Regions from separate parts of the Homo sapiens genome. Here region 1 is linked to region 2. Evidence: promoter capture Hi-C in 16 types of primary human blood cells and fetal thymus (Javierre and others, 2016). All regions are on one chromosome and are shown on one strand. Each heading gives the region's core, a stretch centred on a gene start or on the middle of the fragment in contact. The rest is flanking DNA. Distances are from core to core; before and after follow the strand shown. Region 1 holds the start of TLCD5 (TLC domain containing 5). Region 2 holds the start of OAF (out at first homolog).

Evidence for each region. The method cuts DNA at HindIII sites, captures the fragments that hold promoters and counts their contacts. A CHiCAGO score of 5 or more calls a contact.
Region 1: a contact is called between the fragment with the promoter of TLCD5 here and the fragment with the promoter of OAF in region 2, in 6 of 17 cell types (naive CD8 T cells, total CD8 T cells, erythroblasts and 3 more). The highest score is 8.2, in naive CD8 T cells.

The regions. Positions count from the first base shown.
Region 1 is chr11:120,321,165-120,327,816 of GRCh38, reverse strand. TLCD5 (TLC domain containing 5) reads right to left here and starts at 2,518. Exons shown (of 3, transcript NM_001198671.2): 1 at 2,449-2,518; 2 at 177-376. The coding sequence starts at 375. RefSeq lists silencers at 2,154-2,213, 2,284-2,573, 4,946-5,105, a cis regulatory region at 2,837 and an enhancer at 2,765-2,909. The HindIII fragment of the contact is 8,838 bases long and covers 1-4,541 here.
Region 2 is chr11:120,206,329-120,213,499 of GRCh38, reverse strand. It overlaps OAF (out at first homolog), which reads right to left and starts at 2,468. Exons shown (of 4, transcript NM_178507.4): 1 at 1,990-2,468. The coding sequence starts at 2,220. RefSeq lists silencers at 2,151-2,260, 2,351-2,400, 2,581-2,840 and an enhancer at 3,174-3,715. The HindIII fragment of the contact is 5,525 bases long and covers 1-2,930 here.

The DNA of each region.
Region 1 (6,652 bases), core at 1,269-3,768, 110 kb before region 2:
CAGAAACAACAGGTGACATAAACAATATCAGAGTTAACAATGAAGAAGAATAAGGATTCCAATACAAAATTATAATGGGAATTAGTCTTCAGTATTGTACAAATTCTGTTTAAAAGTCCCATACTTCTAAGACTACCCCCAAATCATAAATCCCTAAGGGAAAATCCCCTACCTACCTGGGTGGGTAAAAGGCCATGGGCCATCAATGAAGCCAATATAAGCGGAGAGGCCTATAGAGAGGACTCCATGGGTGAAGGTGACCAGGCGGCAGCTCCACTCATAGCTTCGGTGCTTATTCAGGTGGCAGAAAGAAATATAGAGCGAGAGCCAGCCACACAGGCTGCACAGCACCTGCAGACACAGAGCTAATGCCATCCTGTGATGAAAAGACCAAAACCAGAAAAACAAAGGATGCACCCTAAGAAAACAGCACTGGGTCATTTTGTGTATATATCCTCATTTCTATTATAGAATAGTTCAAAAATATTGCCTTATCTTATTTTCCTTATCTACACGGCCAAGAATCTTCTATTTAAGTATGGCTGTATTTATCATTCCAAGTTCCTCAGAGATAACATGTTAGCAACTGGTCAATGTTGTAAACTGGAAACCAGGAACTGCACTCCGAGCTGGTAGGCTGACATCACATTTTATGATGAGTAAATGTCAATAATAACCCTCTAGCGATGACTGACCTTGGGCAATAATACACAGAAAATAAAGCACATGTATTAAATAATGTCTTCACAGTTCAAAAACCCCAATGAAACGCACTCATGAAAAAACAGAACACTGCCACGTTGGTTTCTGCTAGAGGTCACATGACACATGGCAGTTTAATGTGGTTTTAAGCTGATACTAAATTCAGCTGAGGTTTGGATTTGGGTCACAGGTTCATCAGTCAAAAACAAAACTTGGGATAAACTTAAATACAGAACTAAACAAAGAGTCCAGACATCTTGGAGGTTGGGGGGAAATCCTGGCTTTATTCAGTTCTGAAATCCGACCCAAAGATTTGCCAAGAGTGAAGCAGAAGGATTCTAAGGTTCAAGAGGAGGGGAGTTTTTGTTGAGATCTAAAAATATCCTTAAGGCAATTATTCAGTTAAAAATGAAATGAAGCCAGAAAGCTGTACCTTGGAACTTTTACTGGTGACAAATACGTTAGGACAAGAACAACTATAACTGAGTCAATTTAGTCACACAGGACTAAAATCTAAATGAGCAAGATGTTGTTATTAGTTAGTATTCATTAGCTCCTCCATTGAAACGTACAAATAAAAAGTCAAAAACATATCAGATATCTACTTCATCTCAGCAGACATTTTCTGCATGGCTATGCTTATTGCTTAACCTTATTCTGACCAGTGAAATAGTTATCTGTGGACGTCAATACACAAGCCACTTCCCAAGAATGCTATCCAGAGAGGGCTTCATGAAGGTCAAGTTCTGTACAGCTTTCATCTGAAATCAGATTTCCATTCAAGAAAACCGTAGGTGTCCATAATAGACCTGGGTTCCAATTCTGTCTCTGTCCCTAGAGAGACTAGCCATAAGAGTGTGGGCAAATCACTTTAACCTCTAGAACCACAGTTAAAAAAAAAAAGAAGAAATTAAAGAAAAGAAAAGAAGGAAGAGGAAGGGGAGGAAGGGAAAGGAAAGAAAGAGACTAGGACTGAAGAACTCTACAGTCCGGTCCAGTTCTGACATGGAGTTCTGAGATAAACTTTGTAAAACATCAAGGCCAATTCTCAGAGTAAGGGCCAGAAATACAAAGTATCCCAGGTGAAGAGAACTGCCCTCCCTTATCTCCTTCTAAAGGCCAGGGTCACTGGCCAGTAATGCGGATCAGCTCATTTGGATATGCCTATTAGTATTTTTAGAGTCTTCTTCTCTGAATCCTAATTCCTTGGCAGAACAGAGAAAACAGTAGCCCATTTACAAACACTTAAATAAAAGAACAGACATTCGTAAATGGCAGACACAACTCTGTGACCTTGGGAACTCCCTGTGTGGGTTTCGGCTTTTTGCTCTTGGTTTTTGCCAAAGAACGGAAGGGCATTTGGAAGGCCATCGCGGCTCAGAGGTCCAAGGCTCCTCTCCTGGTTTCTCCCGTTCCAGGGCCAGACTGGCGAGGAGGAGCCTTGGAGCAGGCGTGGCTGGCGGCGAGCGCGGGCCCCGGGGCCTCGCAGGGACGGCGATCGCATCTCCGCGCGGCGGTGCCTGCGACGCTCGGCCACGCCCGGACCAAGAGCCGGAGCCAGGCACCGTTATCCCCGCATCCCGCTGGCGCCGCAGCCTGGCGCAGGAAGGCCTCGGGCGTCCGAGGCAGGAGGAGGCCCGCTCCCCTTCGGAGGCGAGCCCGGGCCCTCTGCCGCCTCCTTCCCCACCAATGGGCCGCGCGGGCCCCGTGCCCACCCCGGCCGGGCAGTTCGCGCCGAGCGGTTACCTGGCGGAGCGCACCGGGAAGCCTCGGGCGCCCGGGCGCCCGCAGCTCCCGGCCCGGATCGCGGCAACAGGAAGCGGAGGAGCCAGAGGCGGAGGACGAGGCTGTGACGGCGGCGGAGGAGGAGCCGGGGGTCTGGGGGCACCTGCTGGCTGGGAGGATGGAGCGCAGAGCCGGAGCCGGGCCACCGACGCTCCGAAAGGGCGCGGGAGGGTCCTCCTTCTCTGGCGGGGGGGTCAAGAGGGATCTAGCGGTGACGTGAGACCTGGAGGCCGCTGCTCTTGTTTAGCTGTTGTTGTTTGTTTAAATCATTATCCACTTCTCCCCTCCCCTCAATGGGACAGCTCATCCAATCAATTTATCGAGTACCTACTAAGTACTTGCACCCTTACTAGGCATTGTGGGGGATGTAAGACATCGTTCTTGCCCTCGTGCTTGAATTTAAGTCGTGAAACAGGAATTGATGAGCAGGAAAGTGCTCAGGCCTGAGAATTAGAAGTTACAGTATTCCAGTCAGCCCTGTAACCAACTTGACAGTAAAGCATAAGGCTTGAAAGTGAACCTTGCTTGGTACCTCTTTGGGCAAGTTACTTTTCTGTTGCCTCCCTTTCCTCGATCCTGAGGATGGGGATAGTAATAACACCTATCTCATATGGTTATTTTGAGAATTTTAAAATATTACATGTGTAAAGTGCTTTGAACAATGACTGGCACATGGAAGTCACTACATAAATACCAACTGTTTTATTTCACTTTGGGTAAATCCTTTTCTTCTCTGGTTCTATTTTAATACCAAGCAGAGTAAGTTTGAGCGATAAGAATGGAGGCTCGAATGGGGTAAAGACGGTGTCTGTCTTGATTGATCAGGACAGGCAATCCCGGGTGCTGAGGAACCTAGACATTCTCAAAGGAGAAGACCGTTAGCAGAGGTGTGAGTGTTTAGGCCGTGCCTGGGGAATAGTAAATATTCTAGTTTTGGTCATTTATCTTACCAACTCTTCAAAGGTAAGGATGGCACTGGTTTCATCTTTGTTTCCCTAGTACCTAGCATGAGGCAGGTACAATAAATGTTTGTATGTTGAATTAATGTGAAATGAGCCTGGGAAACTATCTTGGAAGCATATCACAGTTCCTAAAGTGTGTTGATCAACTATGCCACTTGGGAAGTGTTTTCAAATACCCTGTGCAGGCTGTACCTTGAATATTATGATTTATTAGGTCTGGTATGGGGTCCAGGGATCTGTATTTTTTAAAACCTGCCCAGGAGTCATTCAGACGATCACATTTGATAACCATTGCTGTTAGAGTCCTTAAATGCCTCTGATGCCAGCCTAAGATGCCAGGCTGAGAGAGCTTATTATGTGGAAGCTCATGATGTTATTGAACAAGGGAATCATATTATCATGCTCTCCAAGCCCTTGCTACTCAAAGTGTGGTCTATGGACCAGCAAAATCTGCATCACCTTGGAGTTCATTAGAGACTCAGAATCTCAGAACCTACCCCTGGACCTACCAAACTAGAATGTGCATTTTAACAAGTTCCCCAGTGATTCGTATACACATTTGGGTCGTAGTTCTTAATCTTGATAGCATGGTAGTATCACTTGGGAGCTATTTAAAATCCTAATACCCAGGGCACACTCCGAAAAAAGTAAATCAGAATCTCTGTGTAGATATCAATCAATTTAAAAGCTCCCTGGGTGATTCCAATGTGCAACCAAAGTTGAGAACCCCAGCTCTAGCAATACTCAATTAAAATCAGTGTAAGATGAATTGCAGAAGGCCTGTTACACATGTGTTAGGATAGACCGGATAACAGGTAATGATAGTCTGGAGAAGTAAAACATGGAAGGCTCCACTTCACTGAATGGAGAGTATGCAGAGCTCACCCTTTCCCCCATTTGTTTTGTTGCAGTATTTTTTTTCTAGTATCTGAATCTGGACTTTCTTCTTGCTGCCATCATTTCCCACAAAAGTAGGGTACTAAAGCCTTCAGGAGCCTAAAGGCTGAGGGGGTAAGGTAAAAGGGAAGGAGCCAGTTCTTCCTAAAATATTGGGCCTTTATCCTAGGGTGACTGGGATTCTAGGTTCAAGCTTCATGACCTAGGATTAAATTTTGTTGATGTATGTATCTTTGGCCACAATCCCTGTTCCACCAAATCAGATCCTTGTCACCGGTAGCATCCCCCAGAAATTCTGGGCTGTTAAGGAGAGCAGGGGACAGGAAGCTCTCCACCAATTTAATAGCAATGAGAATAATAATCACAATAATAACAAATAACACCTATACTGCCCTTATTAATGTACCAGGCATTGTTCCAAGCACTACATATATATATATATACACACACACACACACATATATATACACATATACATATATATGTATACACACACACACATATATATGCATACACATACACACACATATATATATACACACACTCAATCCTCACAAACAATTCTATGGGATGGGACCTATTGTTATCTCCATTTTACAGGTGAGAAACTGAGTCATGGAGCAGTCAAGGCTTTCCCAAGATGACACGGTTAGTAGGAGGCAGAGTAGGGTACAAACCCAGGCAATATGACTCTGGAGATCACGCCTGTATGGCAGATGCACCTGACAGCGGTAACTTAAGTATAACCTGAGAATGACCCTGTGTGGCAGACACACCTGAATGTGTGTCTAGTGTTCCAAGCGTGGCCAACCCAGAGATTATTCCTTATGTATGAGGAACATCTGAGCCCCTGGCCCAGCCCTTGGAACATGGGCCATACAGGGGGCTGAGGCCCTTTGTTTTGGGGTAAATGAAGGTTGCCAGGTGGAGGTTGTTAGCGGGAGGGTGTTAGATGAGAGTGCCATGTAAACTGCGTGCTTTCTGCAGGCAGTGGTGGTTCTCCTGTCCAGCCTGTTGCCACCGGATCCCTCTTATGTAAGTTCCCCTCAACAAACCCTATGTCGCATTTGTTGGCTCTTGGTCTCTGGCCTCTTGAATCTGGTGCTATCCCTCCTGAAGTCAATAGGGGTCTGGCATGACAATGCCCTTAACCACTGTGATATGCTGCCTCCACTTACCTAAAAATTCCTGCAGGTTTGCACTGTATTCTGCTGTATTCACAACTCCTATCTCAGTGAAGGGCATTAAAAATTTAGAGGGAAAAAAAGGGAATTTTATATTTAAAAAACATAACTGCCTGTTATGTGCTAGTCACAATGTTAGCCACAGGGATACAGAAAAAAAAAAAAAAAGCCTCAACTGCAAGGAGTTCCCCCCACAGAAGGAAGAGGCAGAAGAGTCAGCAGGTGAGCTATGGTGGGGCCACACAGAGCACAAGAGGAACCCTGGCAACCTGGGAGCTCCGGCCAGGGTTCCTGCTTTGAGTCCTAGGGTTAATAAACTCAGTCTCTGAGTCAGACCAAAAGTTCTTACTTTGTCTTAGGAGGGCAGAGCTGGGCCCACCCGTTTTGAGTCAACTAAACATCAGAGTATGAAATACAGTTCGGTTGGGCGCGGTGGCTCACGCCTGTAATCCCAGCACTTTCGGAGGCCAAGGCAGGCGGATCACGCGGTCAGGAGATCGAGACCATCCTGGCTAACATGGTGAAATCCCGTCTCTACTGAAAAATAGAAAAAATTAGCTGGGCGTGGTGGCGGGCGCCTGTAGTCCCAGCTACTCAGGAGGCTGAGGCAGGAGAATGGCGTGAATCTGGGGGGCGGAGATTGCAGTGAGCCGAGATCGTGCCACTGCACTCCAGCCTGGGTGACAGAGTGAGACACCATGTCAAAAAAAAAAAAAATACAATTTGAAATGTAGCAACAACAATCTTTTTTTTTTCCTCCCTTGGCAATGACTGGTGGTTGCCCTCAGATTCTCTTGTCCCTAGTTAGATGCTGAGGCGGCGAATCAAGCTTCAGTTAAACTTCCCTGGAATTACAGATTTTACAGAATCATGCAGACATGAAAGGTGACCTTGCTCACTTTCAGGCTTGATTCTGTTCAGCAATGTCCAAGTTAGTTGGCAAGGAAAGCTACTGGAGTCTGAACAGGCTACAATTCTGTTTATTTCTTTCATAAAAAATCACGGGCAAATGGATGAAAATCCAAGTTTTGGACAATGCAGAGGATCAGCTTTCAGCACTCACCTGAGTAGGATGTCAAGGTAGCCAGGACTTCTGTAGAAAAGGGTCAGCTCTAGCATCCA
Region 2 (7,171 bases), core at 1,219-3,718:
CCAATTCCCTCCCTTGCTGATGAAATTGGAGATGCCAGAGGTGGGTATGAAATGGTAGCTTCTGGGTCAGAGGCTAACCTGAAAATCAGACTTTAGAAACCTGGGTGGAGGTCTGAACCACTGTAGAGATTCAAATGAGGTGCTCACAATCTCCAGATGCATTTTCTAACTGGGCAGTCAGATGACCAGCATACCCTCACTCCAATCCCCAGCACCCCACCCCCGCCATCAGCCACTACTGCCAGCACATCACAGCTACCTGGGTACTTCTTAGCCTCTCCCTTCAGATCACAGCAATAAAAACCTTCCAGATGTAGCTAAAGGCTATAAAAGCTCAGCCCTACCCATTGCCTTTCACTGTCCTGGCCACAGCCAGGGAAGTCTCTCTGCAGGATTCTAGTGCAGCCACAAGATGACATCCAGTGGGCAGGGGGTTGGGAGCCTCACAGCCTGGCCTAAGGCTAACTTTCAAGGACAAAGGGCTTGGACAGAAGATTAGATCCCCGATTCCTGATGGATCCAGCCACTAACATAGATTTTTCAGGAACAGAACACACTTGATAAAATTCTCCTAGGGTTTAGGTGGGGAGGCAGGGTGCCTAGCTTAGGCCTGCGGAGTAAGGATGGGCTACAAAGTCTTCCCATTTGTGAACGCTCACTACCCCACCCCCCATCTGCCTGCTTATGTCCAATGTCAGTGCCAACTCCGTGGCCCTGGGGCAATCAGCGGTCAAGCCTCACCCCCCAACCCCACCCACCTCTAGCGGTCAAGCCTAACCCCTCACCCCTGCTAACTATGGCAATCTGGCTGGGTCCCTAACTGACTTCCCAAACTCCGCCACCTCTCCTCTAAAGCGCCCTGTCTCTACGAGGGAGGAAAGACAGGCAGCTTCAGCAAGGGTCCCCGGGGCCCCGGGCTCCCCCAGCTATCTAATCGGCTTCACCCCTGCACTCCCCCAGGGACAGAGCCTCACAGGGCCTCTCTTTAGCTGGGGGAAGGAGACAGAACGCTCCTTTTGAATACCTAAGACTTACCCACCCTCTTTTCCTCCAGCTTTCCTGCTGCTGGGTCACTGTTAGTCACTCACCATCCAGGCCCATTTCCTGATAATCCCCCAGCCCCCTGGGTGCAAGGCCCTTCTTATTCCCTCCAACACAGACACACACACACCAAGAGCGGGCTGGTCTCTAACTCCCAAACCGTAATCTGGGACACACACCCACACACCCACACCCACCCACCCACCCACCCACCGGGCTGGTCTCTAACTCCCTAACCCTAATCTGGGCCAAAATAGGGGGGTTGGCTCGCTTCTCTGCCAGGCAGAGTGAAGGGCAGCACTTCTCCCAGAGGGAGGGGGCCTCAGCTGGGGTCTCTCTCCAGGATCCTCCTGCTGCAAGCGCCCCAGCCTTCCAGACCAAAGAGGAGACAGGGCTTCTCCCGGCTTGAGAGGGACCAGGGGCAACCAGCTCTCCCCAGAAAAGTGAAACAGAGGGAGAGGTGACAGAGGGACTCCAAAATGTCAGGGCTGGGAGGCCTCGCAGACCCCTCAGTGCCCTGTACAGGGGTGAGAAGCCAGGCCCATAGGAGGAAAGAGGCTTGCTTGCTCTAGATCACACAGGGAGAACCCACAGTGAGAGCCCACAGCGAGAACACTTCGCCTAGGACTTTCCCACTAGAGCACAGGGGAATGACTCCAAGAAGGGAGTCCAGTCGTTAGTAGGAGTTCTGGAGGAGGGTTAGCACCTGGGGGGCTCTGGGAGCGCTGGAGGAGGGAGTGAGAAAGGGAAGCAGAGGGGTTCTTTGGAGAGAATGAAGGGGTGGGCCCTGGGGAGTGGGCAAAGAGGTGTAGAGAAGAGCCCGGCGTGACCTTGGGCCAGCTGCGTCTCCCTCCTGGGCCCGTCTTTCCGTCTGCAGGCAAGAGAGCGCCTGGGATCCCGGGGGGCTCAGGCTTGAAGGTGCCACCCCGGCGAGTGAGGGCGCCTCACCTTCTTGAAGTCGGCGGTGAAGGAGACGAGGGTGCCGTCGGGCTTGCGCAGCTCGAGGCTGATGCTGTCCGCGTCGCTGTCCGCCTGCAGGCTCTCCTCGGTCACCTGGCCGTCCGGCAGCCGCACGCGGACCCGCAGCTCGGCCGGCGCACCCGTTCCCAGCAGCGGCGCGAGCAGCGGCAGCAGCAGCAGCAGCGCAGGGCGCGCCAGGGGTACCCCGGGAAGGCGCATCCCCGGGGGCCGCTGCCGTCCGCGGCCCCGGCGCGCCGCGTGGGGGCGGGGAGAGGCGCAGGCAAACTTCGCCCAAAGTTGGGGGCTAGTTCGGGGCGCCCGGGAGCCGCTCCGCCGGGGGCCTTGGCCGCGGGGTCGCCCGCGAGGTGGCGCGGACGCACGTGGGTAGCGCTCAGCAGGGCGCCCCCGGCGGCCCCGAGGCGGAGACGGCGCTGCCCCGGCCCGGCTCCGCGGCCCCGGGCTCCAGCGCTGCGAGCCTGTGTTTTGCACTTTTCATTCAATCCCACCCCCCGTCACTTCCTTCAGAAAACAGAAACCACCAGGACCCGCCTTAAAGAGACCGCGCACCTCGCGGCCCTTAAAGGGCCCGCGGCTGCTCTCCGCACTTCGGCGTTGGCCGGGCAGGGGGCGGGGAGAGGGGGCAGCGGCTCCGCGGCTTTGTGCGAGCGGCCTCCTCGACCTCCCTCCCGCCCGGCCGCGCGGAGTCAGCGACCCAGGCGGAGTCAGAAGTTTGCTCTCCCGGGGCAAATCCCTTCCTTCCAGCAGGGGCAGGACGGGTGACTCTTCCCCCGCCCTGCACCGCCACCCCCCCCCCCCGCTTTTTTTTTTTTGGCTTGCTTTTGTGCCACGTGGATGAAATAATCGGGCTTGGATTTTTAGGGGTTTTGTTTGGTCTTTCAGTTTCTCTGACAGCGAATTTCTAAAAAGCTTCTGCAAAATCAGACCTCGCTTTGCACTCTGCCTTTTCCCTGCCCCACACTGGGAGGGTGGATCGGGGGTTCTCGCCCAGCTTTGCCACGGCCAGGTGTTAGACCTTGATGGGTCAGGTCACCCACTGGGACGCGGCCCTCAGGTTTTGTGAGCCCCTGTGCCTCTTTCCTTTTCAGTCCTGCCTCCCGTGCTTCCCGCATTCACGGCCTTTCCTCAGTCCTGCCCACCACCGCAGACCCGGTTCTTTCTCTCTATTATAGACTATGAAAATCCAGGGAAATGTTGGATTCCAGGTCACTTGGGAGAATTTCCAGGGACTCGGGACGCTGGCGCTCCACGACAGTGGCTTTCCCACAAGCCACAAGGAAACATGCGTGCCCTGCGGTGCACCCCAACAATAAGAAGGGTGAAGACCAGGAGATCTGGATTGCTGCCTCCTCTGATTAGTTGTGGAATTTAGGCACGTTTTAAAAATTCTTTGGGCTTAAGTGTCCCCGTGTGTATCGTGGAAGCTGCTCAGACCTACACTGTCCTGCCAGTCCCAGGCAAGGGAAAAAGCCCCACGAAGATGCTCAAAACCAATTGTTCCCTGACTTCCATTTTCACTTCTGTTGGGACCTTGATTACTGATGGGTGAAAACTCCCTTCTCTGCAGCCTCCTTCCCTTCTAGGGCTTCCCCAGCACAGGGCCATGTGAACTGCAGGGTCCGGCTAGAATCGGCCTCTTGCTATCATCCAGGGGCCCTTCCCGCTACCCGCTCTCTGCTGCCTAGATTTAGGACTGAAGGGAATTTAAGAGACTACCAAGTCAGCCTTTTCCAAATTTGCCTTTCCTGAAGAATCACCTGGATGCTTGTTAGAAAATAGATTCCCGAATCCCTAAACCCATGGAATCAGATTCTAGGGAAAAGAACTGAGGATTAGCATTTTTGACAAGGCCCACATGATGCTCGACATAAGTGGTTGACAGCAGGTATTTGGCAGATGTTTAAGCATAGAGCGTCTGGGCCAGACGCGGTGGCTCATGCCTGTAATCCTAGCACTTTGGGAGGCCGAGGCGGGCGGATTGCCTGAGCTCAGGAGTTCGAGACCAACCTGGGCAACAAGGTGAAATCCCGTCTCTACTAAAATACAAAAGAAATTAGCTGGGTGTGGCGGCGTGCGCCTGTAATCCCAGCTACTCGGGAGGCTGGGGTAGGAGAATTGCTTGAACCCAGGAGGCAGAAGTTGCAGCGAGCCAAAATTGCGCCACTGCACTCCAGCCTGGGTGACAGAGGAAGACTCCGTCTCTACAAAACAAAACAAAACAAAACAAAACAAAAACATAGAGCATCTGAAACAAGCAGCATCCTTCCTGGAGAACCTGGCTCCTAAGGAGTTCATCTTCACATCCGGGAGATAAGGCAGGCTGTTAGGGAATAATTGGATTAGCACAAGGATTGCTCCCCTAAGGACTCCCACTCTTAGCTGGCAACCGTTTAGACTAGAGATGCCCAGGGTCTTGAAATTGGCCTCCCGCCTGACAGGATGCTGGATCTCCATGCGGCCTTGAAGCTAGGTCTCCCACATGAGTCAGCCCACACAGTCATTAAGGGCCTCGCCCACATTTCCTAACTTCCCTTGTTTCAGGTCCTGTCCCCATCCGCCACCAGCTCTGCCCTCAGCCATTTCCCAGGCTCTTACCCCTTCTCCTCCCACAACAGCCCAGAAGTGGGCAAAGAAGCCCTGGATGTCAGATTTCTTGTTTAGGTCCCTGAGGTTTGTCTCTGTTCACATTTTGGGTTTGGAAACAAGGATGGAAGACCTCATCTCTTTCCCACCTCTTCCCCATAGTCAACTTCCTTCTCTACTTCAACCACAGATCAAACCAGATTTTTCTTTGAAAGTGATAGGGCATTTGAAATCTCACTCCATTACATAAGCCCTGCCTACCTACATCTCTATGCCTTGCTATTGATTTCACCTGACCACCTCTTCAAGCTCCAGGACAAAACTCAGGTTTCCCAGGAAGACTTTCTCGACTCCCCACCGACCTAGCCCTCTGTTCTGTGCCACTGTCTCCGGCCTCTGGACTCCAACAATAGTCATTATTATAGCAGCTCCTCCCCCATTGTATTTTGATTATGTCCAGGTTCTGTGCCAAGCATTTTACATGGATCATCTTATTTAATTTTCATGGCATCCCTCCAAAGTAGGTTCTATTCTTAGGCTCTTTTTACTGACTAGGAAACCAAAGCTTAGAGAGGTTAGGCAACATACCCAAGGTCACAAAAGCAGTAGAGCCAGCCGGGACTCAAACACAAGTCTGCCCGCCTGACCACAAAGCCCTTGCTTTGAACCACAGTAGCCTCTGCCTGTCGGTAGCCCTCACTTTCTGCCAGTCCCACTCGGGGCTCACATCCTGCGCTATCTTCTCCTGTTATCTAACGGTTTCGCGTGTGGCAATCCTGTATCCCCAGTGAAGCCGTCAGCTAGTTCAAACAGGCCAGCCCCGTGCTGGGAACAGACAGCGTTTCCCTCAAACCATCCGGGCATAGAAGCATCCATTCATCTTAAATGTAAAGGCCGTCAGAGGAAGAGCTCTAACAAGCCTAATTACTCCGACTACAACCAAACAGCCCTCATTGTCAGAGAGTTCTTCATGTCTCATCGCAAGACCTCTGCCACACCATAAACCAATTTCCTTTTTTTTCTCATCTCTAGCCCTTGGAAAGCAGTAGCCAGTAGTGGTTCAGAAAATGGGCATCAGGATCTCAGTCCTGGAGCTCGGCCCCAGTCATGAGCTGTGCGTCAGTGAGCCTGTTTCTTCAACTGTAAAATGGGCGCATACGTTTCTCCCTCACTGGGTTGCTTTGAAAATTAAATGAAACATTGTGCATAAAATATTTCGCAACATGTTTGGCATATAGTACAGATCCAATAAATGGTGGCTGTTATCCTTTAATTCTGTTTATTCTTTCCCATTGTATCACATACTAAATCTCTGATTATACAAGTCTCTCCCTCTCACCCCCTGCCACATGTATACGCGTGCATGTACACATATTCTTTCAGAAACATTTTTTTGGCTGGGCGCGGTGGCTCACACCTGTAATCCCAACACTTTGGGATGCCGAGGCGGGTGGATCACCTGAGGTCAGTAGTTCGAGACCAGCCTGGCCAACATGGCAAAACCCGTCTCTACTAAAATACAAAAATTAGCCGGGTGTGGTGGTGGGCGCCTGTAATCCCAGCTACTCCGGCGACTGAGGCACGAGAATCGCTTGAACCCAGGAGGCAGAGGCTGCAGTGAGCTGAGATCGTGCCACTGCATTCCAGCCTGGGTAACAGAGCGAGTTGGTCTCAAAGAAAAAAATAAATACATAAAAAAGAAATATTTCTTCCTCTCTATCCTCTTTAGGTGTCTAAGTTTTCTGTGTCTTGAGACCTCCGAAACTGAGAAATGGATAGCAGCAAAACCTCGGGAGGCACTTTCCCTTTGCTTTTTGGTCTGAGTGTGCCTTAATTTGGGAGGAAGAGAAACACCAAACCATCTCCCAATCTGTGCCCAAGAAAACAGGTGCTGACAAGACCCTGCAGGAGGTGGAAAGGGAAACTGAACCAATGACCTTTACCGAGAGACAGGGAGAGAACCACCAGGTGCTTGTCTTTGCAAGACTGGAAAGATTTTTTTCTTCCCATGACTTTCTGTGAGTGGCTGTTTGGTTTGGGTTAGGTTACAGCCCCTTTGTCTCTGGGCCTTTGCAGATAGAGTGGAGGATTTGCGATTTGAGTTTGAGGGAGAACCAGGGATGGAGTGAGGGATCCCCTCTGCTTCTCAATGTCAATTGCAAAGCTCCAGACACTTCATTGCCAGCACAGAAGTACAAATTAGCTTTCCGCCATCACACAATTATGCAGTTCCATCCATCAAGGGTGTGGTGGGAAAGTGGATTGGAGAGACAGCTGGTGGGGATACTGAGTGGAAAGGGAAGAGAAGTGGAGATGGCTGGGATAGGCATGGAGAAGCTATTCTTTTCGGGCAGAAAAACCAGGCAGAAGGGAAGTTGTCATGGAGGTGGGCTGGATCCATGACTTTCAGGAAGGAAAAGGAAGCCTGGATGATCAGAGCTGCAAGCCAAGGCAGATCTCAGTCCATTGATTAGTCCATTGATTATGGTAGCTCTTCAGGTGCCTTTTACCCTCTGCCTCTTGCTATAATTATTTCACAGTATTTGTGTTTGAAACCAGAGGCTACAAA